Regions from separate parts of the Homo sapiens genome. Here regions 2, 3 and 4 are each linked to region 1. Evidence: promoter capture Hi-C in 16 types of primary human blood cells and fetal thymus (Javierre and others, 2016). All regions are on one chromosome and are shown on one strand. The core of a region is centred on a gene start or on the middle of the fragment in contact, and the rest is flanking DNA. Distances in the headings are between cores, read along the strand shown. Region 1 holds the start of CMPK2 (cytidine/uridine monophosphate kinase 2). Region 2 overlaps CPSF3 (cleavage and polyadenylation specific factor 3). Region 3 overlaps LOC124907728 (a long non-coding RNA gene). Region 4 has its middle 160 kb from the start of LINC01304.

The links. The method cuts DNA at HindIII sites, captures the fragments that hold promoters and counts their contacts. A CHiCAGO score of 5 or more calls a contact.
Region 2: a fragment that was not itself captured here is called in contact with the fragment with the promoter of CMPK2 in region 1 in 1 of 17 cell types (total CD8 T cells); the score reaches 6.6 in total CD8 T cells.
Region 3: a contact is called between a fragment that was not itself captured here and the fragment with the promoter of CMPK2 in region 1, in 2 of 17 cell types (fetal thymus and monocytes). The highest score is 7.3, in fetal thymus.
Region 4: a fragment that was not itself captured here is called in contact with the fragment with the promoter of CMPK2 in region 1 in 2 of 17 cell types (M0 macrophages and M1 macrophages); the score reaches 5.1 in M0 macrophages.

The regions. Positions count from the first base shown.
Region 1 is chr2:6,863,347-6,868,475 of GRCh38, reverse strand. It overlaps CMPK2 (cytidine/uridine monophosphate kinase 2), which reads left to right and starts at 2,569. Exons shown (of 5, transcript NM_207315.4): 1 at 2,569-3,454; 2 at 4,898-5,012. The coding sequence starts at 2,780. It also overlaps a transcript of RSAD2 not described here. RefSeq lists silencers at 2,309-2,578, 2,819-3,258 and an enhancer at 2,579-2,798. The HindIII fragment of the contact is 2,067 bases long and covers 2,042-4,108 here.
Region 2 is chr2:9,424,592-9,430,153 of GRCh38, reverse strand. It overlaps CPSF3 (cleavage and polyadenylation specific factor 3), which reads right to left. Exons shown (of 18, transcript NM_016207.4): 2 at 1,326-1,389; 3 at 134-231. Among named protein-coding and RNA genes, the nearest start is that of CPSF3, 3.7 kb to the right of the region's middle. The HindIII fragment of the contact is 3,044 bases long and covers 944-3,987 here.
Region 3 is chr2:9,006,405-9,011,576 of GRCh38, reverse strand. LOC124907728 (a long non-coding RNA gene) reads right to left here. Exons shown (of 2, transcript XR_007086199.1): 2 at 2,714-5,172. Among named protein-coding and RNA genes, the nearest start is that of MBOAT2, 5.3 kb to the right of the region's middle. The HindIII fragment of the contact is 1,319 bases long and covers 2,734-4,052 here.
Region 4 is chr2:4,129,491-4,135,121 of GRCh38, reverse strand. No RefSeq gene overlaps it. Among named protein-coding and RNA genes, the nearest start is that of LINC01304, 160 kb to the right of the region's middle. The HindIII fragment of the contact is 2,802 bases long and covers 2,130-4,931 here.

The DNA.
Region 1 (5,129 bases), core at 1,320-3,819:
TCATCATTTATTTTATAATATTCACTTTTATGAATGTGGAATTGTTTGTAATATTCTCTTTTGGGTATCCTTTTGAACTTGTGGTTCTATCATCTCATTTATTCCTATTCTGATTTGCATTTTCTTTCTTTTTCCAATTGAATTAAACTACCTAGAAACATATCTGTTTAAACATGTTTTCAAAAACTAAGCTCTTTTTCAAAGTGTTATTTTTTCATTTTATTATTTATTAATTGCTATTTATATTTTTAATTCTCCCATTCTGTTTCTTTTTTTCTTAGGAGCAGAATGGCTAGAAAAGTTTCATTTTCTCTTGTTTAATACTGTAAGTGTTGAAGATTATGGCTTTTCCTATGATATAGCTGTGCTGTTCATTCATTTAAAGACACCTCTTTGAAGTATCTTCCCAGCCTGCAGCTTCTCTCCTTTCCACCTGCAACGATGGGTGGCTACAGGCATGTTTAGTCAATATAAACATCCAGCTGTGGCTCTCAGAGTCTCTGTCCTACAAATTTGAAGGGGCTTGAAAATCTAACAGAAATTTTTATTTATGAATGAAGATATATCTTCAACATCTTCAACACTTATATAATATTGACTAAGCCCAAATACTGCAGTGTTATTAACTTTACATCTCTTCGTAGGGCGAAGGTAGGTGAAAAATAGAGAGGAAAACTTAAATTAAAAAAGGTAAGATGCTTCATTTAGCAAACTGTGTGTCAGGTTTTCTTTCAGTTGGAGGCTCAGAGAAAAGTTAGGAAGAAGCTGGTCTTCCTACTTACCCTCAAGGTGCTCAGTGGTGGGAAATAGACTGGCACGTGACTGTGGAGTGTCAAGGTCCGAGGATACAAATAGCCTTGGTGGGGGACACAGGAGAGGCTACTAACCCAGATATGTGGGGGGTTATAGGCTATATCATGTCCCCCAAAATTCATGCTCAGGCCTAGCCCCCAGTGCCTCACAGTATGACTGTATTTCAAAATAAGGCTTTCAATAGGTGATTACATTAAAATGAGAACATTATGATGGGCCCTAACCCAATCTGACTGGTGTCCTTCCCAGAAGAGGAAATTTGGAACTTCAAGGAGACGCCAAGGATGCAAGCACAAAGGAAAGGTCCCGTGAGAACACAGAGAGAAGGAGGCGGTCTGCACGCTAGAAAGAGAGGCCTCAGAAAAAGCAAACCCTGCTGGCAACTTGATCTCCAGCTTCTCTGGCCACCTGAACTTTGAGAAAACAAATTTTCTATTGTTTAGGCGGCCCAGTCCGTGGTATTTTGTTATGGCAGCCAGGATAGACTAATACATCCAGAGAGGTGGATGGCATAGGGAAAAGGTCAAGCAGGCTTGAGGATGCAGTACTGTCTTAGAGAAGAAAAGGGAGTAACTAGAAGACTCTTACTTCCATATACTACATACACGTGAAACCACCGGTACATGCTAAATGTCCAAAAGTGAAATTCCTGAGAAAGAATAAAAACTATTCTATTCTCAAAGAGCTAAAAAATTTTAAACTCCTAATTCTTCTTTCTTCTTAGCCTATTAACCCACACTCCAACCACCTATCTATATTTCACGTTTGTTAAGACTTTTTTTTTCAGAATTAAATATAATCCCAAGTTTAAGTCCAATACTATTAAGACATAAAAAAAAAACTGCTTTCAGCTCATCTAATGTTTTCAATCTTCGTCTCAATTCTATTTTTTTGAGAGAGTTTCCCTGGAGAATATTATCTTTTTGTTTGTTTTTGGTTTGCTTGACATCATTTTTAAAAGGCATCAGTTAATGAGTAAACACAGAATAAAATATCCAAATAACTGCGCAAACACTGTTACACTGTTAGGCAGTTACACTGTTAGGCAGCAACAGTGCTGATGCTGGACTGTGGCAGGCAGAGGGTGCTATCCTGACACACTTCACCTTAGTGCAGGAAACTTCAATTTGGTGGAAGAAAGGCGATTTCGAGGTGCCAATCTGGGCGACACTTCCCAGTTGGAGAGTCAGCAAAAGGGAGAGGGCAATTCCAAGAAGAGGGAAAAGCTTGTGCACAGGTGAGTGTGTGCAAAGGTGAGTGTGTGCACAGGTGAGTGAGTGCACAGGTGAGATAAGATACAGGAGAGGGAAGAGCCAGAACTGCGCCCTGTTCCCGCAGGAAAGCAGCTCTGCAGGATTAGAGGGGCGGGGACGCGTGGTCAGAGCTAGGAGTTGAGGTCGGGGAGGGAGCCCATGGTCTGCAGGGCCTGGTCAGTCATCCAAGGGCAGTAGTGCGCCTGCAAGTGGGCGTTGAAGAGCCCGTTACACCGGGAAGGGACTTCTCTGTCCCTCGCGCGTGCACCCCCGCCCCCCTCCATGCACCCGGCATAAGCCGCAGAGGAGGAACTCAAACCAGGGTCGGGGCCGCCAGCCACCCGCAGAACGCACACGGAGCTACCTTGGGGCCGACGGCGCGGGGCCTCATTCGGTGTCAGCCCCGGGAGCCGGCGCCTGGGGACCGCGCAGGCCCGCGGAGCCGCGCACCTGGGGCCCCGGGGCCAAGCGTCTGCTCCCGAGCGCCGGCCGTTTATCGCGCACATCTCGCGGCGAGGAGGAGAGGCCGGAAGGGCGCCCCAGCCCCAGGGCTCCTGCCCCGCCTGGGCCTCCGGCTTTCGTTTCCCCGCAACGCTTCGCTTTCGTTTCCCGCTGGCGCCTGGCTCCCTCCGGGTTTCGTTTCCCGCCGGCGCCTGGCTCCCGCCAGGTTTCGTTTCCGAGGCGGGGCCGAGGGCGGCGTCGCTGAGGCGCCCATGGCCTTCGCCCGCCGGCTCCTGCGCGGGCCACTGTCGGGGCCGCTGCTCGGGCGGCGCGGGGTCTGCGCTGGGGCCATGGCTCCGCCGCGCCGCTTCGTCCTGGAGCTTCCCGACTGCACCCTGGCTCACTTCGCCCTAGGCGCCGACGCCCCCGGCGACGCAGACGCCCCCGACCCCCGCCTGGCGGCGCTGCTGGGGCCCCCGGAGCGCAGCTACTCGCTGTGCGTGCCCGTGACCCCGGACGCCGGCTGCGGGGCCCGGGTCCGGGCGGCGCGGCTGCACCAGCGCCTGCTGCACCAGCTGCGCCGCGGCCCCTTCCAGCGGTGCCAGCTGCTCAGGCTGCTCTGCTACTGCCCGGGCGGCCAGGCCGGCGGCGCACAGCAAGGCTTCCTGCTGCGCGACCCCCTGGATGACCCTGACACCCGGCAAGCGCTGCTCGAGCTGCTGGGCGCCTGTCAGGAGGCACCACGCCCGCACTTGGGCGAGTTCGAGGCCGACCCGCGCGGCCAGCTGTGGCAGCGCCTCTGGGAGGTGCAAGACGGCAGGCGGCTGCAGGTGGGCTGCGCACAGGTCGTGCCCGTCCCGGAGCCCCCGCTGCACCCGGTGGTGCCAGACTTGCCCAGTTCCGTGGTCTTCCCGGACCGGGAAGCCGCCCGGGCCGTTTTGGAGGAGGTAAGAGTTCTGTCCGCTTCCAGCTCCCAGCGTGGCATCTGAACCCTTCAGACCAGAGAACTGGACCAAGAGGCTGGTCTGTAGAGCCGGTTCTTGCCTGGGTGGTTTGTTTATTTCCGTTCACAAATCAGGTAGGGAAGGTGTCCTGTATGCCAGGCAACTCTTTTAAGATTCTTGTTTGCAAGGATCTTCCAACCTGACGTGGAACATAGACCTACACCAAGCCACGCGATGCTTGCTGTAAAAGCATCCCAACAGCAGTACAGAGGGAGTAAAGGGGCTGCCGGGAGTGAGGGAAAATAATGTCAGCTGGGAAGTAATTTTATTTGCTGATGATCACCATTCAAGGATCTTGGGGTGAAAAAGAAAATGCATGAGTTTAGGGGGTTTAAGAAATTTAGACTTAAATAGTGTTTACCTACCGACTGGCCATGAACCTTGTGCAGGTTACTCAACTACTCTAAGTTTTGCCCTTTGACATGTACAATTCCCATCTTGCGATGTTGTCCTGATTAAGGAAACATCTGACTCACAGCAGGTACCCACAGAAAGAGACTGAAAATTCTTTCTGATCGCAGGCTAGGCAGATGTCCTCCTGTGACACAGATGAGCCCTGAGGATGCCCCCATGGATCTTGGGAATATTTTCCAAGCTTACGGGACAGCGTTGTGGAGCAGTTAAGAGCGCAAGGTCAACCACGTGTATTTAAATTTAAACTCTGGCATTTATTAGCTGTGTCACTTTGAGCAAGTTTCTTCAACTCTCTGCCTCAGTTTCCTTAATTCATATGGTGGGAATAATAATAGCACCCCCCCACCCCAGTTCACAGAGATTGGCAACTGAATACTTGTAAAGCACTTAGAAGATTGCCATGCTCAGAGCAAGCACATAAGTGTCTGAGCCTCGCTCTGAGATGCTGTGAGCGTGCAGTGAGATAATGCACATTGAGGAACTGGGAATTCCCAGGGGGACGCTGCTCTGCCAGCTTCATGATTGCAGTGCTTGGCTGTTTATCTCAGCCCCCTGAATGGCTAGGAGAGGACATGCTGCAGATGAAGACTGCTCTCTCCAGCCCACTGTGCAGCTGATTTCCCATTCTTGTGAGACAGTGTTCCCAGCGGGCCTGTAGTTCCATGGTTGCGGTGTCACAGGACATTGTGATGATGTGCCTTGCCTGGCCTTTCTCAAAGCTGCTCAGTGAAGGCTGCAGGCCACCAAGCGATCCAGACAGGGACAGCTGTTTCGAGCCTCGGCTGCTCAATATAAAATAAAACACTCCAGTCCATCCTAGCATCGAAATACTCTGAATTCCCATGGCCTGGCACAGTGCTCAGTATAACTTAGGCCTTATTAGCATGCGGCAATATTGTGCTCAGCAATTTAGGTGTGATTTCTGCAAAAGCCCCCTGGCTTCATTGCTGATGGATAGACGTTGTTTTACAGTGTACCTCCTTTATTCCTGAAGCCCGGGCAGTGCTTGACCTGGTCGACCAGTGCCCAAAACAGATCCAGAAAGGAAAGTTCCAGGTTGTTGCCATCGAAGGACTGGATGCCACGGGTAAGATAATATTACCTTTTAGTTATAGGCAATGACACTAACTGATTAGTTGCAGAAACAGAAATACTTCCTGCAAAACCAAACTTTATATGGAGCCTTATGTGTGCCCCTACTGTG
Region 2 (5,562 bases), core at 1,216-3,715, 2.6 Mb before region 1:
GACTCAGATGTCTGCAATATGCTTCCTAGCAGAAAACACTCTTTTAAAAAACCAAACTCTCAAAATCTAGTAAAGAATGATCTTGATAGTAAAAGTCCGTGAAAAAGTGTCATTAATAAAGGGAAAAACTTACTGACTAATTAATAGGAGATCAATCTCAGCTGGGTCAATTAAATCAATATAAGGAAGAGCATCCATTCCTTCTAGGCCAGGGTGGATCCCACAGTCGAGCTGAAAGAAACAGGAAAAGAGATCACAATCTCCTGCACATTTTATTAAAATTCATTCGGCAAATAGGCAATAATTCTAGTTCCATCACCCATATACTCAAGATGGACTCCAGGCACTAGCACTTGGAACATGATTCTTATTAAATGTGGCAAATATGCCATTAACAATTCTAACTTCCCAACAAATTTAAAATATAGCTCACATTTAGGGGTCACAGGATGCAAAGTACAAAACAGCTTCTTTCCAGCTACTTTTGGTCGTCATTCTAACAACGAATTAAATCTTTTTCAAAAACTTTGATATCAGATTAAAATTTTAAAAGTTTATAGATTTACTACTACCAGATCGACTCTCGTGAGAAGATAATAATTAGAAATGGGAAACTTACCTGATCAGGGTAATTTAAATATTTTAAGGCATTAGGGAACAAATTCTTAAGACTCAGTCATTAAAGTTACTTATTTTTATGGCGTTACTACCAAATTAACAAAACAGATGACTAAAAGGATGACTATGTCTGACCTATACATGTTCTTTTCAGATTGGGAGGAGTTGAGAAGAAAGAGGAATCAAAGGAATCTGAGACACAGAACTGACTTTCTAATGAGTACCTTAGAAACTATCTCCTCTAACCCCTCTACCTTTCAGGCTTAGAGAAGCAAAGTGACTTGGCCAAGGCCGGCAGCCCCAGTGGGACCTGGGGATCCAAGCTTCTAGGCCAAGGCTTGATCCCCACATGCTGGAGGCGGCTAGAGCTCTCAGTGTGTTCAGAGTGCTTGGGCCCTTGGGATCTTCCACTGGGGGTGGGGCAGTTAGGCTGGCTCAACCCTTCAGGAGTGGAAGAGGGACTTTGAAGAGGTAACAGTTCAACAGATCTAGCTGACAATTTTACAGTCATAGAATATATCTTCTTAATCAACTAAATTACTAAGTAGAAGTGTGTATTAGTTTTTCTCATTAACACTATACAGCATAGATTACATGTACTATAACATTTTTCTGGGAGCTAAAAAGATAACTAGTCTATGAGAAAAGACTAACACCCAATACAGACAGAGCCATACTATTAAACTGAGTACAAAAATAGTAATTACCATTATTTTTCTTCCTTTGAACTCGAGAATAATACATGATCTTCCTACTTCTTGCCCAGCTCCACTGTAAATATTCAAGGGGAGAAAAAGAAGGATTAAAAAAAATCAAAACCAAGTCCAATAAACTTACACTTTTTTACAATGTACACTACATGCCATCTGATGACAGCACCTCACTGAAAAATTCTGAGACGTAAGAGAGTTCTACAAAATCACAAAGACAGGGAAGAACAGTGTCCACATGAGAACAGATGAAAACTGATCCTTGGGAGTCCAGGGATCTTGCAGTTCTTAAAATTAAGAGAGAAGGCGGTACAGATCCAAGAAGCCCAAAGGTTTGGGCTTGATTTAAATTCAATTTTCTGAATTTTAGGATTAAATTATAATGTATTTAAAATGTAAACTAGCAGTTACGCAGATTATATAATAATACTTCTAGAATTAGCACTTAAGTAGAAAGCCATAAGCATTTCAACACTGTCATCTTCTTTAAGATCATAATGTGTATTTGCCAAATGGCTTAAATTTAAATGGCCGGGTGCGGTGGCTCACGCCTGTAATCCCAGCACTTTGGGAGGCCGAGGCAGGCAGATCACGAGATCAGGATATCGAGACCCATCCTGGCTAACACGGTGAAACCCCGTCTCTACTAAAAATACAAAAAATTAGCCAGGCGTGGTGGCGGACACCTGTAGTCCCAGCTACTCGGGAGGCTGAGGCAGGAGAATGGTGTGAACCCAGGAGGCGGAGCTTGCAGTGAGCTGAGATCGCGCCACTGCGCTCCAGCCTGGGCAACAGAGCGAGACTCTGCCTCAAAAAAAAAAAAAAAAAATTTTTTTTTTTAAAATACTTATTCATACTGTGAATTTCAATCACTTTTTCTTCTACTTTCTGTTATTTCAGCATATTTTATACCAACTACTTACATAATTTTTGTTTCTTCTTAATAATTTCAGCCATAATTTGCAATGGTCACAAGGCACACTTTAAGTTAAACCTCATCTTTCAAATCCCTCACCTTCTTTGATGCCTTTTCCCAACCATTCTAGCTCACAATCCACTCACTCACTCAACATTAAGCAGCTTCTATTTGCCAAGCACTGGATTAAGTGCCTAGGACATGGAAATGCCTTACAGGGACCCTGACCTCAAGGAACTCAGTCAGATGGACATGCAATGGATCTATCCCCAAACTGAGATCCTACCTCCAAACAGGTGTTGATACAGAAGATCAAACAACTGTGGATGAGAGCCGCCATAAATTCCTGGCCTTCCACTTTTTAAACATTTTTTATTTGTAATTATTGTGGATACCCTGGCCTTCCACTTTAACTGGCCCTCAATGTTGCCTGGCTGTTTTCTCCATTTCATTTCCATATCAACTATTTTCAAACTTTCTTCCCTTTCCCAAATTTTCCAACCTTCTATCCTCTTCTTCACTTGAGGCATGGGCCATCTTCTGCATCAAAAAAATAAACAGTCCATTTGTAAATTTCCTCAACTTCATGTTGGTACAATAATTAAGAATACATGTACCAACAGGGTACCAACCTGCCCACATCTGTCTCCTTCTATTTCTCCTCTATAGATAGAATAGACCTCTCTTTCCACAATGAAACTTTCCACCATTCTACTCTACGTACTCCCTCCCTCCTTCTGAGGAACTCAACACTGCTGTGTCATTGACATTTTCCTCACTGTCTGCTCTTTACCATCCAATCCAAATTTAAACATACTACAGCCATGTTCATCCCCAAATTAAAATCCCTTGACTCTAAGCTCCTTTAGTTCCCACTTTATTCTTTCCCCAGACCACCTCCCAGGGCAGTGGACCCTCTTGTACTTCCTCACCTTCTACTCGCTCCTCAATTCGCTATACTCTGGCTTTTACCAATCACTTTTCTGAAACTGTCCTTGCTGCTCAGTAGTCATTTCAGTCTTTTTTTTTTTTTTGAGACAAGGTCCCCCTATGTTGCCCAGTCTGGCCTTCAACTCCTGGGCTCAAGTGATCCTCCCGCCTCAGCCTCCCAAGTAGCTGGAACTATAGGTGTCAGTCCCTATCTTGTTCTCTTGGCAGCCGTTGTCACTCCTAAGGAGTACCTGCTCCTTCCTCAAGCACCTCTCCCTTGGCTTCTCTGACCTGATGCTCTCATCTTGTCTTGCTGGCTTTCCTGTTTCCTTCACATATTCAGCCACCTCTGCCTACCCTTTAAATGTTGATATTCCGAGGGTTTGCTCCTTGGCCAACTTCTCAATCTTCATTCTCATCTTTCTGACATGCTAAGGACTTCCAAGCCTGTATTTGTAACCCAGATTGTTCTTCTGAATTCTAGACCTTTAATACATACACGTGACACTAGGTATCTCTACTAGGATCTCTCCCGGGACTTCATATTCAAGATGCCAAACTAGTTTCCACCACATGCCCCGTACTTGCTCTACTTTCTTCCTGAAATGCTTTGTCTTCAGATATTGATGTGGTTGGCTCCTTTGTATCATTTGGGTCTCAGTTCCAACGTCACCTTCTCAGATGCTTTCCCTTGACTACCTCCTCTAATTTGCCCTTCACAGCAAGCCACAACCCAGCATCAGTTATCTTAATACAACTACATGAAGTTATTGTACCTACTTATGTCTTCTTTCAGGCTACTAAATGAAAGCTTCCTAAGAACAGAGGCATTGTCCATCTTATTCACTGCTGTATTGCTACAGTACCTGGCATGTAGCACATCACAAAAAATACTTATTGAATGAACAAAACTCCTCAATTTTGAACCTTGGAAAGATTATGCTAAATGAAAGATGCCAGAGACAAAAGAGTATGTATTGTATGATCACACTTACATGAAATGTCCAGAACAGGCAAATCTATAAAGAAGTAGATTAGTGGTTGCTTAGGGCTGGAGAGGTAGTGGGGATTGTCTATGACTGCTAATGAATACAAGGTATCTCTTGGGAGTGATGAAAATGTGCTGGAATTAGAGAGAGGTGATGGTTGTATAACTCTATGTTAAGAACGACTGAATTATACTCTTTAAATGAGTTGTATGGTATGTAAATTGTGAGTTGTATGGTATGTAAACTGTATCTCAATAAAGCTGTTACGAAACAACCAAATTCCCAAATTTACTCCAGAGTTGCCCCATCTCTTATACTCCTTGAGTGAATAACACTACCCTTTCCCAACTGCCAAACTTAGGAATCTGATCATAACATCCTCTCTGCCCTGCCTTCCCTCCCCACAACCACCCTTCCAGATACAGCTGATCAGCCACAAAATCCTGAAGATCTCATTTGCATACTCTCTCACACTCACATCACTCACTACAGGCTCTCGTCAGCTAGACTTAGAATCTTTCAATATCTCACTGAATCTGCTCTACTCAATCCATGCTTTTATTCATCCATGCTTTTATTCATCTGCTACACTGCTGCCAGGAGAGATTTTCCTAAAACATAATTCCCACAATATCCATGCTTGCTTAATAGCCTTCGCTGGCTCCCTGTAATTGACTTGATAAAGGTCCAAACTCCTGTGTATACGAGGTGCTTCCTAAACTGGACCTCAACTGCCTGTCGCTTCATCTGCTAACTCAACTCTTTAGCTACAGCCATGAGGAATCTGGCCACAAGCTGTGACCACTCTCACTTTCATATGTGCCACTTCCACTGCCTAGAACATCCTGGGCCCCCCAGTCTTTAACTCCTACTCATTCTTTAGGACTCAGCTCAGGCATCACATTTTTCAGGATCCACGAGGTATCCTTTTTTCCTCAATCTGTCAGAAATCCCTTTTCCATACTTTCACAGTGCTCAGTGCAATGCCTGCCTGCGTTCTTAGATTAGCTATTATTTACAAAGCACCTACCGCGATGTTCACTCTTCAAGTTTTATCTTATTTCCATATGAGAAAACGGGTTCAGTGAGATTGTTGTCCTACTAATTGGTCAAGTAGATAATGGACTTCAGGTCTGACTTCAAAGTAATAGTCTCCTATTATTCCAAAGTATCTCTCCAATATTTCCCACTGTGCACTGTAATTCTCTCCAAAAGAGCGAGAGCAATTAACTGGGCCCTCTGTTGCGTCTATATCCCCATGTGTGGTGCTTGACACTTGCTCAGTGTTTGCTCATCACAGGAAGACATGACAGGTGTGAACTAAGCAGAAGGAAACGGACTATGTCCCAAGCAGGTGCTCAATGAAGCCTTACTGAATGATTGTGTAAAGGAGATACTT
Region 3 (5,172 bases), core at 2,144-4,643, 2.1 Mb before region 1:
GATTGTGGATTATTTGTAAATTGGAAAGACACAATAAAACCTAGTTAAATTATTTATTATGGCATATGAATCAGCATATATGAATTATTTTTCTATTTGCTTAATTATAATGAAGTTCTTAATAGAATACGATATATTAAGGGCCCAGGGCAATAGTTCTTAAACTTCAGTGGGTACTTAGGAATTACCCATGAACACTAATAAAATGCAGATTCTAAGGCTCTGACATAGAAAATTCTGATTCTTTATGTGTTGACTTGCCCAGAAATCTGGATTTTAAATAAGCATACTGAGTGATTCTAATAAAGAAGATCTTGGGACCCCACTGAGATACACTGCCTTGTTGAGTTGTATCAGACATACTTGAGTTGATTTTGTCTTTTGATTTATTTCTCAATGACACTCAGGCAACTCCAAAGGGAGCGATTTTAAGTGCTCTCTTAAATAAGTATCTAGGGACCAGTAGTGGAATATATTTCACACAAAGAGGAATAGAGTAGCTTTATGCAATAAGACCAAGTTCCTGGCTCCTGTCCTAGAATAATGTAGGATCATTTTACTGGTTACCAGCTGGATGCTAACCAAAAAAAGATAAATATTTGTGGATTCAGAGATGGTATTTAGAGAAATACTGTGCAGAGGGATGAAATCTAATGGTGCCTGGAATTTTCAAAATAATCAATCAGAGTAACAATTTTAAATGTGCCACAAAGTAATATGGTACTCCAAACTATAAATTATGCATTCAATTGCTTAGTTCTTATCCATGAAATCTTTATATGAGTTACTGTTTGTCCTTTTAAAATCCCTTTCCTACTGTGTAGGTTGTAAAGGTTCAGAATAGATACTAACAGTTAAAAGCAAAATATCTAACCACAGTATATTCCAGCATTTAAGAAGAAAATGTTCAAAACTAGTTGTCGCCCAATTTATTTCCGTTAAGTGCAAAACTCTGTTAATGCTTTCAGGTGAGGTAGGCCAGGAATTTATTAAATCACTTAACGTACTCTTTATACCCTATATTTTAGCCCTCAGTGTTTTTTCCCCCTCAATCTGGAGGAATAAGCTGACTAAAGCAACAACTTATGTTTTGTTTGTTTGTTTGTTAGATTTTGTTTTAAGTTCTGGGATACATGTGCAGGACATGCAGGTTTGTTACATAGCTAAATGTGTGCCATGGTGGTTTGCTGCACCTATCAACCCATCGCCTAGGTATTAAGGCCAGCAGGCATTAGCTATTTATCCTGATGCTCCCCCTACCCATCCCCCAACCCCCGACAGGCTCCAGTGTGTGTTGTTCCCCTCCCTGTGCTCATGTAACAACTTGTTTTTAATCTACCCTTCTATCTAGCATATGGTACCTATGATGATAAATGTAACCATATGCTGTAAGACATAATGGTGATGATGATGATGATGAAGGTGCTGCTGCTGCTGATGAAGGTGATGATGGCTAATATTTATTGAGCACTTACAATGTGACAAGCATTAAGTGTATTATTTGAACACCACAACAAATCATTATTACTCCCTTTTTATAGATGACAAGATTGAGGCCCAAGGAGGTTAAGTAACTTTCCCCAAATCAAATAAGAAGGCCTCGAACTTAAGGCAGTCTCATTTCTCATTCCAGTGCCCAACTTCTTTATCTATTGCTTTCTATTAATGTAACCCTCCCCACCCGATGCCTCAACAAAGTTAAGGACAAAACTTCAGATGAAGTATCTAATAAAGGACCCTCCTTTCGTGTTATTTCCACCTGATCTACATCTTCACTTTGGAAGTGGCAACCCATTATTTGTAAATTTAATAATAAATTGGTTTAAGCTTCCTTGGGAACAATATCTCTTTCATGATAGGTTTACCTTTAAACTTAATGTTTTGTGGTTTTAATAACAACTGTCTTGTGATAAACAGTATTTTAGGCCTAGATGAGAATGTAAATAAGAGGGAATAACTATTTGATTTCAAATGGAAAATAAATTAAAAGATAATTTGATGAGCTTGAAACCAGACTATCATCTGATTATAAGGCCATTCCTTAGCAGGTAACTCATGTTTATCCAGAGTCATCCATCCTGGAGAGCAAGTTCTTTGGCAAGAGAACCAGGTTAGATGTGGTAACCCCAGACATGATGGGAAGAGATGACTCTCATTTCTAATTTTTCACTGGCTAGAACTCTGACATTAGTTAGGACACTGGTATTGTAATCTGTGGACCAAAACCCAGCATCTATAAAATGACAATAAGGGAGGAAGGGTTTAGGCATAAAATACCCATAACAAAATATGCAGTTTGACACATTTACTTCTAAAGAGGGAATTCTGCTGAAAGTGATAGGCTGCTGGGGACTACACAAAACTCTTCAGCAGGCTGGAGAATAACTTACAGCTTTCTCTTTGTCACAGAGCTGGCAGCAGAAGAGGGTGGGTGTAACTCCTCCCCTAGTAGCCAGACTACACTGTTTAGCAGAACAGTGATATGTCAACATGTATCAGAAGGGCAACTCTTCTTACAATTATAGATAAACAGAAAGAACCTGGAATATTAGGCGAACTGAGAAAATGAGGCCTTCTTCCCCAGTGCAGTGACCCCAGCAGATGCAATAAATGCTGCTAGTGGTGACGGTGATTATGATGAACCCTGGGGAGGCTACAGCAATTTATATTTAAGGTGTTTCATAATTTGGACACAAAAACTATTATGCAGATATGCAAAAGCATGAAAAAGCTTGAACTTTATTTTTCTGTACCTAGGAATCAGGGGTTGGAGGCTGCATGCTCATGTTGTAATAAATAAGCATGAAAGGGGTGTTCTTTGTATTGAGATTTGACTCAATCATATAAAGATAAAAATGCCAAATAAATCTATGAGGAAAATAAAATGTTTCCCAAGATGCGCAGATATAAAACAGAAATCTTTGCAGTCCACCAAGAAATAATAGGCATTTTTAAGGAGAAAGACTGATTAGAGACGTAATACATTTGAGGTAGTCCTGGAACCTGTGGAATAATTAGAAAGCAGTGCTATTCCCAAACTGATGAGTAATAGTTTCATTTGCATCTTTTAGCCTAATTTAAACCTAGACTGTGGTCTCACAGAGACAGAGAAAGTCCCAAAAATTCTTGGGAATCATTTAATTTTAGAGGAAGAGGTGACAATTGAAATCATTTATTTAACAAATCTCTTAACATGTTCCCAATGAAATTGAAGATGAGTGATTTGTTTGCTGGTACAGTCCACGTCCGTGGTGGAGCCAGAATACAGTGGAGCCAGGACTTCTCCTACTGTGTTTGCTACCTCTTGTTCAGCCTACTTTGTGATTTCCTAATTGAACTATGTTAGGTCTTAAAGGGTGACATTCTCGTTCCATTTTCTAGTCTCAGGCTAAGGTTAGCTTGCAAGTGCTTAAAGATGCCCCTCTAGTTAACTTGGGTTGTTATTATGTGTATGGTTCAATGTTCTTCATCCATCAAAATTATTCCAGGGTATAGGAACATAGAATAGGCAAAATAATTGCCTGAGAGATGGAATTTCATGGCACATACTATTTTTACAAAACAAAAGCAGCTTGGCAGATTATTCATTTCTTCCCAGTGGTTTCTTCAATGTTAAAAATAAGTTGGGAAGGAAACATCTCATTTTAGCAATCTTTAATGATCACAGCGATTTTAGGAGGCGAGGGCAATGAACCCAGGACAAGAGCACTGCCGCACTGCCATCTTACCACACGTGGATGCTGCCTGGTGCTCCTGTGCCTTTGTCTAAGTAACTCTTGTTAACAATGTGGCTGCTATATTGAAATCCCTTTACTACTAGTTATTATTTCTCAGACTAACAGTACTAGTAACTTTAAAAATAATTGAGTCTATGATTAAGTTCATGCTCATAGTCACAACACTCCTATGAGGTAGGATGAACAGTTACCATTATTCATATTTAACAATGGGAAACTTAAGGCACAGAGAAGCTAAGCCAATTTCTAAAGTTCATAGCTATCTGGTGGAAAAGTTAGGGTTAAAATTCAGGTCTTTTAACTTCAAGCTAAGCTTCTTTCTTACAGACATATTCCTTTGATTTTAACATTAAAAAAAGAAACTTCCTTGATACTTTTCTTGTAACATGTGAATTTGTGAATACGACTGTTTTCTTCTTTTGATTACAGGCATCATTTATCCTTTACGTCACCCCACATAGCTCCTTGAACATAGTAAGTGGTCAATAAATGTTTTAACACAAGAATTGCTCTTTATAGGATGGATGTTACCCAAGGTAGGGCAGTGAGGCATTATATACAATTAGTTTAATTCTTTTCTCTTTTGTCTCCACTGAAGAGCTTCTGGTATAATTAGCAGATACTGGTCAGGCTAATTGTATGGCCTGCACACAGTTTATGCTACCATCAATGAGTTATCAGCTTAAAATGCCAGCTTCAATTCTTCATTAAAAACATGAAGAGGTAGTATATTTAATACGAAACAAATGGTTTCCATTTTCAGAATTATACTAAATTTCTTGGATTAATATTATGTGTCAGCTTGACTGGGCTAAAAGGTGCCCAGATAGAGCTATTGAAACATTATTTCTCAATGTGTATTTGAGCATGTTTCCTGCAGAGATCAGCATTCGAATTGGTACATTGAGTAAAGATTTTCTCACCCACGTACCCCGGCGTCATCACATCTGCTGAGGGCCCAAATAGAACAAAAAGGTGGAGGAAGGGTGAATTCACTCTGAACAGGGACATCCATCATCTCCTGCCCTCGGATATCATTGCTCCTGGTTCTCAGGCTTTTGGACATAAACTGAACTACACTGTTGGCTCCTGTGTTTCTCAGGCCTTTGGGCTTGGACTGGACCTACACTACTGGCTTTCCTCGGCCTTTAGCTTACAGATGGCAGATGATCGTGGGACTTCTCAGCCTTCATAATCTCAACCCAATCTCTCATAATAAACTTCTGTCTATCTATTTCCATATCTATTTATTATCTATCTATCTATCTATCTATCTATCTATCTATCTATCTATTCTATCTAGAGTTCTCCAGAGAAGCAAAACCATATCTATCTCCTATTGGTTGTGTTTCTCTGGAGAACTCTAATATAATCTTTCTTAAGTTTTATCATGCACCAAGCACTGTTCTGAGCTCTTCATATAAGTACACCTTTA
Region 4 (5,631 bases), core at 2,281-4,780, 2.7 Mb after region 1:
AAGTTTTCTTGACAAGAAAGGAGTTGGATGGGCCTGTCTCTGCCTCTTGTCAGCCGCAGATCACGTGGGGACACTAGTGAACTGGGGGTGAGTGGGAAGAACCAGCTTCCCAAGCCCCAACAAAAAAAAATGCCAATTAAGGAAGCACCTCTGCAAAAGAGACTCTTTTTACCAACGGAAGCAAATCCAGACTAGCAAATTAGACCTTGCTGGGGAGCAGCAGGGAAGATGATCCAAAAGACCAAGGCACAGAGAAACCCTTATTTATTTTATTTTTGTTTTAGAAAAACACCCAGGGGAGAGGTGAATACTCTTTGACAACAGCTGCCAAGAATAACAAGACTCAGAAGAAATTAGGAGGCAGCAGCTATAAATATACAGCATAAGAGGAAATGCAGCCCACAATTTTAAGGGGAAATGGGGCCTACTGCACTCAAAGACCAACAGTAAAATTCATTTAAAGGCACGGGGCATCCCACTGGAGGACTGAGAGGAGTTTCACAGGCTTATCTTTCATGTCAATCAGAAAAATATATACTTGATAAAATATTTTTCTTAAGTTAGTTAAAAAGTGGCTGTCATTAGTATCAACTTTGGGGGCACCAAAAATTGCTTTATGACTCATGCATTAATTTAACAAATTGTCAGTAAGAACATACTATGTAATGTGCCAGTTGCTAGACATTGAAAAGCCAATAAGAAATGTCTTTCATTCTTGAACGCTAAGAGCTCACAGCCTCATAAAGATCAAAGTATTTAAATTTTTCCATCATGCATCTCTTGAGTTTCCCAACTAATCAGTTAAAACAGTGAGCCCAAGTTTCTTGGTCAGTGATAATGAGCCTTTTTGGAGAGACACATTATATAGTAGTAATTCCATGGATTTGAATTCCCTCTGTGCCATGCAGTGGTTGAATGACCTTTAACAGAGTTTCTCGACCTCAGTACTGTTGACATTTGGGGCTAGATATGGAGACACGGGACTTCCCTGTCAAAGGGGCCATCTTGTGCACTGTAGGGTTCAGCAGCATCCCTGGTCTCCACCTCCCAAATGCCAGGAGTACCTCCCACTTTTGACAAGAAAAAGTGTCTCCAGACTTTGTCAAATGGCCCCCCGTTAACTGCACTGTGCACAAAATTTTTAAAAAATCAAGAAACTAACGTTGCTTCCTTTTACTTTCCATGGCCCTCTGTAAAAAGAGGAGTTGAACGAATTATTACAGTAGTCCGTGATTTTAAACCCTTAAACGTAGTGTGTTGCCGGGGAAAAATCATGGCTTTAGATTCCGTTCCAATTCCATCCATTTCTGGTTGTTAGCTTTGGGTGAATTCCTTCATCTTATTGAGGCCTGGACTCCTGTGCAAACGTAGGAATGGCAGGGGGACTTAAAGGGTGTATGCTAGAGTGCCCAGCATACAGGAGATGCTCCACAATTCAGGGCTAAGCTATTGCAGCAACTCTCAAAAACTAGTCTTTCTGATCTAATCTGATGATTGCATATTCCTATTGATAAATGTATCCATGAGAAAGATAAAACAGCTGCTCTAACAGCTGTCTGAAAATGTCAAAATGAATAACAAAATTAAAGTTTTCTCTTGCTATACGAAGTCTGGTATAGATGTTCCTCACAGGCTCTGCTCCAAACAGTGTGAGGAATCCAGGCTCCCTCCATTGCCAACATGGCCATTCATGGTCTCTAAGCCACCACATGTGTGCCAGGTGCACAGACACCCCACTGTGGCCTGAAGGGGACACATTCTGTGCTCTCATGTCCCAGCAGCCGGGAGAGTCACATGATGCCACCTGCACACAGGAAACTTGTGGAGTGCAAATAGTCCTCTCTGCGAATTAGGCACTAAAAATAAAAATAAAATTATAATGCTGGCTTTGTTACAAACAGTTTATAGTATAAGGGGAAACATAAGGAGAAAAAACATAAGATATAAATATTAAGTGATGTATAAGCTTCCACTTAGGTTGTCAAATAAGATTGAATTATAAGCCCCTTAAGAGATAATTGAAAATGCACTACCAGCAACTCTAGAGCAGGCAGGCGAGTGCTCTGAGGGTTTTCCAAGAAAGCCAAAGATAACATCTAAGGAAGCTTCCTCTGTCCTCCAGTAAAGCTTCTCAAGACAGCTGACCTCATCTTCAATCACTCTAGAAATTCACAATGGGATAATCTTTAATAAGAAACTGATCTGAATACAAAATTAGAAATAATAAAAATACATAGGTGATAAGTTGCTTTAGGGATATGTACAAATGATTAGATATATGCCATTTTTAGAAATGAAGGTTATAAAATGCCACTGATAAAATAATTTTGGTGACTGTATCAGTTTTCTATCACTGCCATAACCAAATACCACAAAATTATTAGCTTCAAACAATACAATGTATTATCTTACAGTTTGGGAGATCAGAAGTCTGAAGTGGGTTTCCTACACTAAAAGCAAAGTATCAGCACAGCTGCATTCTTTCCAGAGGCTCCAGGAGGGAATCCACTTCTGTGTCTTTTCCAGCTTCCAGAGGCTACCCGCACTGCCTGGCTCATGGTCTCTTCCTCCATTGCCAAAGCCAGAAGGAGCACCTTCTCTTTCTGACTCGGCCTCTCTCTGCTTCTGCTGTCACCTAGCCTTCTCCTCATACTGACCTTCTGCATCCTCTTAGAGGGACCCTCAGACTACATTGGTCCCCTCCAGAAAGTGCAGCAGCATCCCTTATCTCAAGATCCTAAACTGAGTCCCATCTGGAAAAGCTCTTTTACCATGTAAGATAACATATTCATGGGTTCTGGGACTTAGATGTGGGCATCTTTGCAGGTCCACTACACAGCCTGCATCAGTGAGTGATGTACAGAATATTATTATTGCTGCAACTCATCTGTATATTAAACATAGGCACATTGCACAATTTCCTCAAGTTTAATTAAACAGTAAATGATGGCAATGTTTATGATGATGCTGACCTTTGTACCTTTAGAATAGCGGAATATGAAGAACTTAATCTTCATAATCTTTCAGAAGGGCCCAGATGCAAGTAGTCAAGACGAGTGGGTTGGCTACAGAGACAATCATCAAACCTAGACAAAATATTTAAAAGGCAGGCAATAACTGGAGGATTTTTTCAAGACATCCAAAGATGGCATGTAAAAGATAGTAACCCATGCCTGAAATATGGGAAAGCAATGGAAAGGTTTATGAGTTTGCAGCTTTTTGCTAAAGGGCATTCTCCCATCCACATGTGGCTCTGGAAAGAGCATCAAGAAAGTTAGGGTAAAATCCTGAAAGAGAGGGAGCCACTGAAGAGGAAGCACTAAAACATGCACATAAATTCTGCCCAACTCATTGGTGGACTGCTAAATACACAGGTGCAGTGGGAGATGCTCCATGGAGCCCAACAAAATGAAGCAGCAAGAAAGTGAAGAACTGAGGGTTAATTTCAGCTGCTGCCAACTGCAGAAGAGCCAGAGGGTGGAGTCTGAGTTCAGAGGAGCTCACTGCCTCCTAAAACAAGCTCAGCACACTTCAAGGGGACAAAAACCCAGAGTCTCCACAATGTGTCACATGTGTTCAAATTACAATCCAAAATCACTAGGCATAGGAAGAAACAAGAAAATAGGACCAAAAATCAAGCAAAATAAGTCAATAGAAATTAAACCCAGAAGGATGCAGATGTTGAGCAAAGTCTCTAGAGCAGGTATTATAAATATGTTTAAGGATTTATAGGAAAATATTTGAGAATGAATGAATGAGGAAACCAAATGGAAACTCTAAAGTGAAAAGCACAATATCTGATAGGAGATTTTTAGTCATGTGGCTTAACAACAGACTGAGTGACAGAAAAAAGAATAAGTGAACTTGAAGATTGAACAGTAATAACACACTCTGAAGGACAGAGAGAATCAGAGCTATATTAACAATGACAAAAAATAAGCACAGTCTTAGTAAACTGTGGGAAAATGTCAAGCACCCTAACATATGTGCTGTTGCCACCCAAGAAAGAGAAGAAAGATACAATGAGTAAGAAAATAAAATATTCAAAGAAACAATGGCTGAAAAAAAACTCCCAATATAGTGATACCCATAATCCAATAAGTCGAAAAACTCATTGAAATCTAAGCAAGTAAGAAGAAAACCACAACTGTCCCCATCATAATTATTGCTAAACTATAAATTTGCTAAAGCCAAAGTTAAAAAGAAAATCTTGTGTTTACCTACAGAGAAACAACACTTTTCATTTAGAGAAAAGAATGAGAGGAGTATCAGATGACTTCTCATCATAAATGATGTAGGGCAGAAGACAATGGAACATAGTTTTAAGGACAAAAATGAATCTATAGCTAATGGAAAATATCCTGGAAAATGAGGTTGCAAACAACACATCAGATTTTTTTAAACTGAGATTATTCACCAATAAACCTGAACTTGGAAATTCCTAAAAGGAAGTTCTTCAGGCCTAAAATAAATGACATCAGGAAGATGGTAATATGGATCTACATAAAGGAATAAAGAGCACCAGAATTGGAAAATATTTCAGCAAATATAAAAGATTGCAAATAGGCTTTCTTTTTTCCATAATTTATTTAGAAGACATATTACTGCTTAAAGCAATACTTATAACAGTGTATATGGGGTTAATAATGTTTGCACAGATTATATGTAGATACAGAACACCAACACAAAAGCTGCATTGGAGATGCCTGACCAGTGCAATTCAAGAAAAGGAAGTAGCATATGGAAAGAGAGAAGTCCAACAGTCTTTATTTACTGCTATTGTAATTGTCTATATAGAAAAACTTTAAAAAAAGTTTTTTTTCTACTCAGTATGGTATTTAAAAGGAATTAATGTTCAACATTTCAGAAGCCACTCCATATCACTAAAGATATTCTACATTTTCCTGGCCCTAGTCCATGGAGATCAAGCTTTATTGTCAGGCCATGCCTTTCCCAGATGACTTTATAAAATCTGCTCACAAGAAGAAGAGGTTGCAGCAATTAGCCATTTGCTCTGCTTAATCTAAAGCAAAGCTCCTCTAAACTACCGGAAGACAGGGTCGCTGTTACCATAATCTGCTAGTAATCATTTGACATGACAGCTTGCAACATGTAGGTTAATGGGCTCAGTAAAGAAAGAAAATGTGATGAACCTTTCTTACAGTTCTGGCTGATTAAAGAGATGCCAGAGGACATGAAGGAGAAAAAATTCCCTCCTCTCAGCAAAGCTGTTTCTGTACATCATTCATTCAGATAGGCTCTAGAAGTACCCAGGCCATCACTGAGGAGCGCTCACAACAAAACTCATCCTTCAAGAGAGACATAGATAGTGGCCTCAGATTTCCAGCTCACTTACCTATGCCATCACTAAAAAAATCCATAAGGAACATGGATTGGAATTCGGGTAAAACCAGAAGCCACTGTCAGGTCACCTTCAGGCGATGGCTGTGTGACCTTAACAATGACCACTAAGGTTTGGCCTGATCTATTCAGTCTGAAGAACTATAGTCTTCATTAGAAAATACACTGAGTCACTAAGCTGGCTTATTTTTCTTTATTTACTGCTATTGTAATTGTCTATGTAGAAAAACTTAAAGTATCTTCAATTAAGAGGTCATATACAAAATGAAA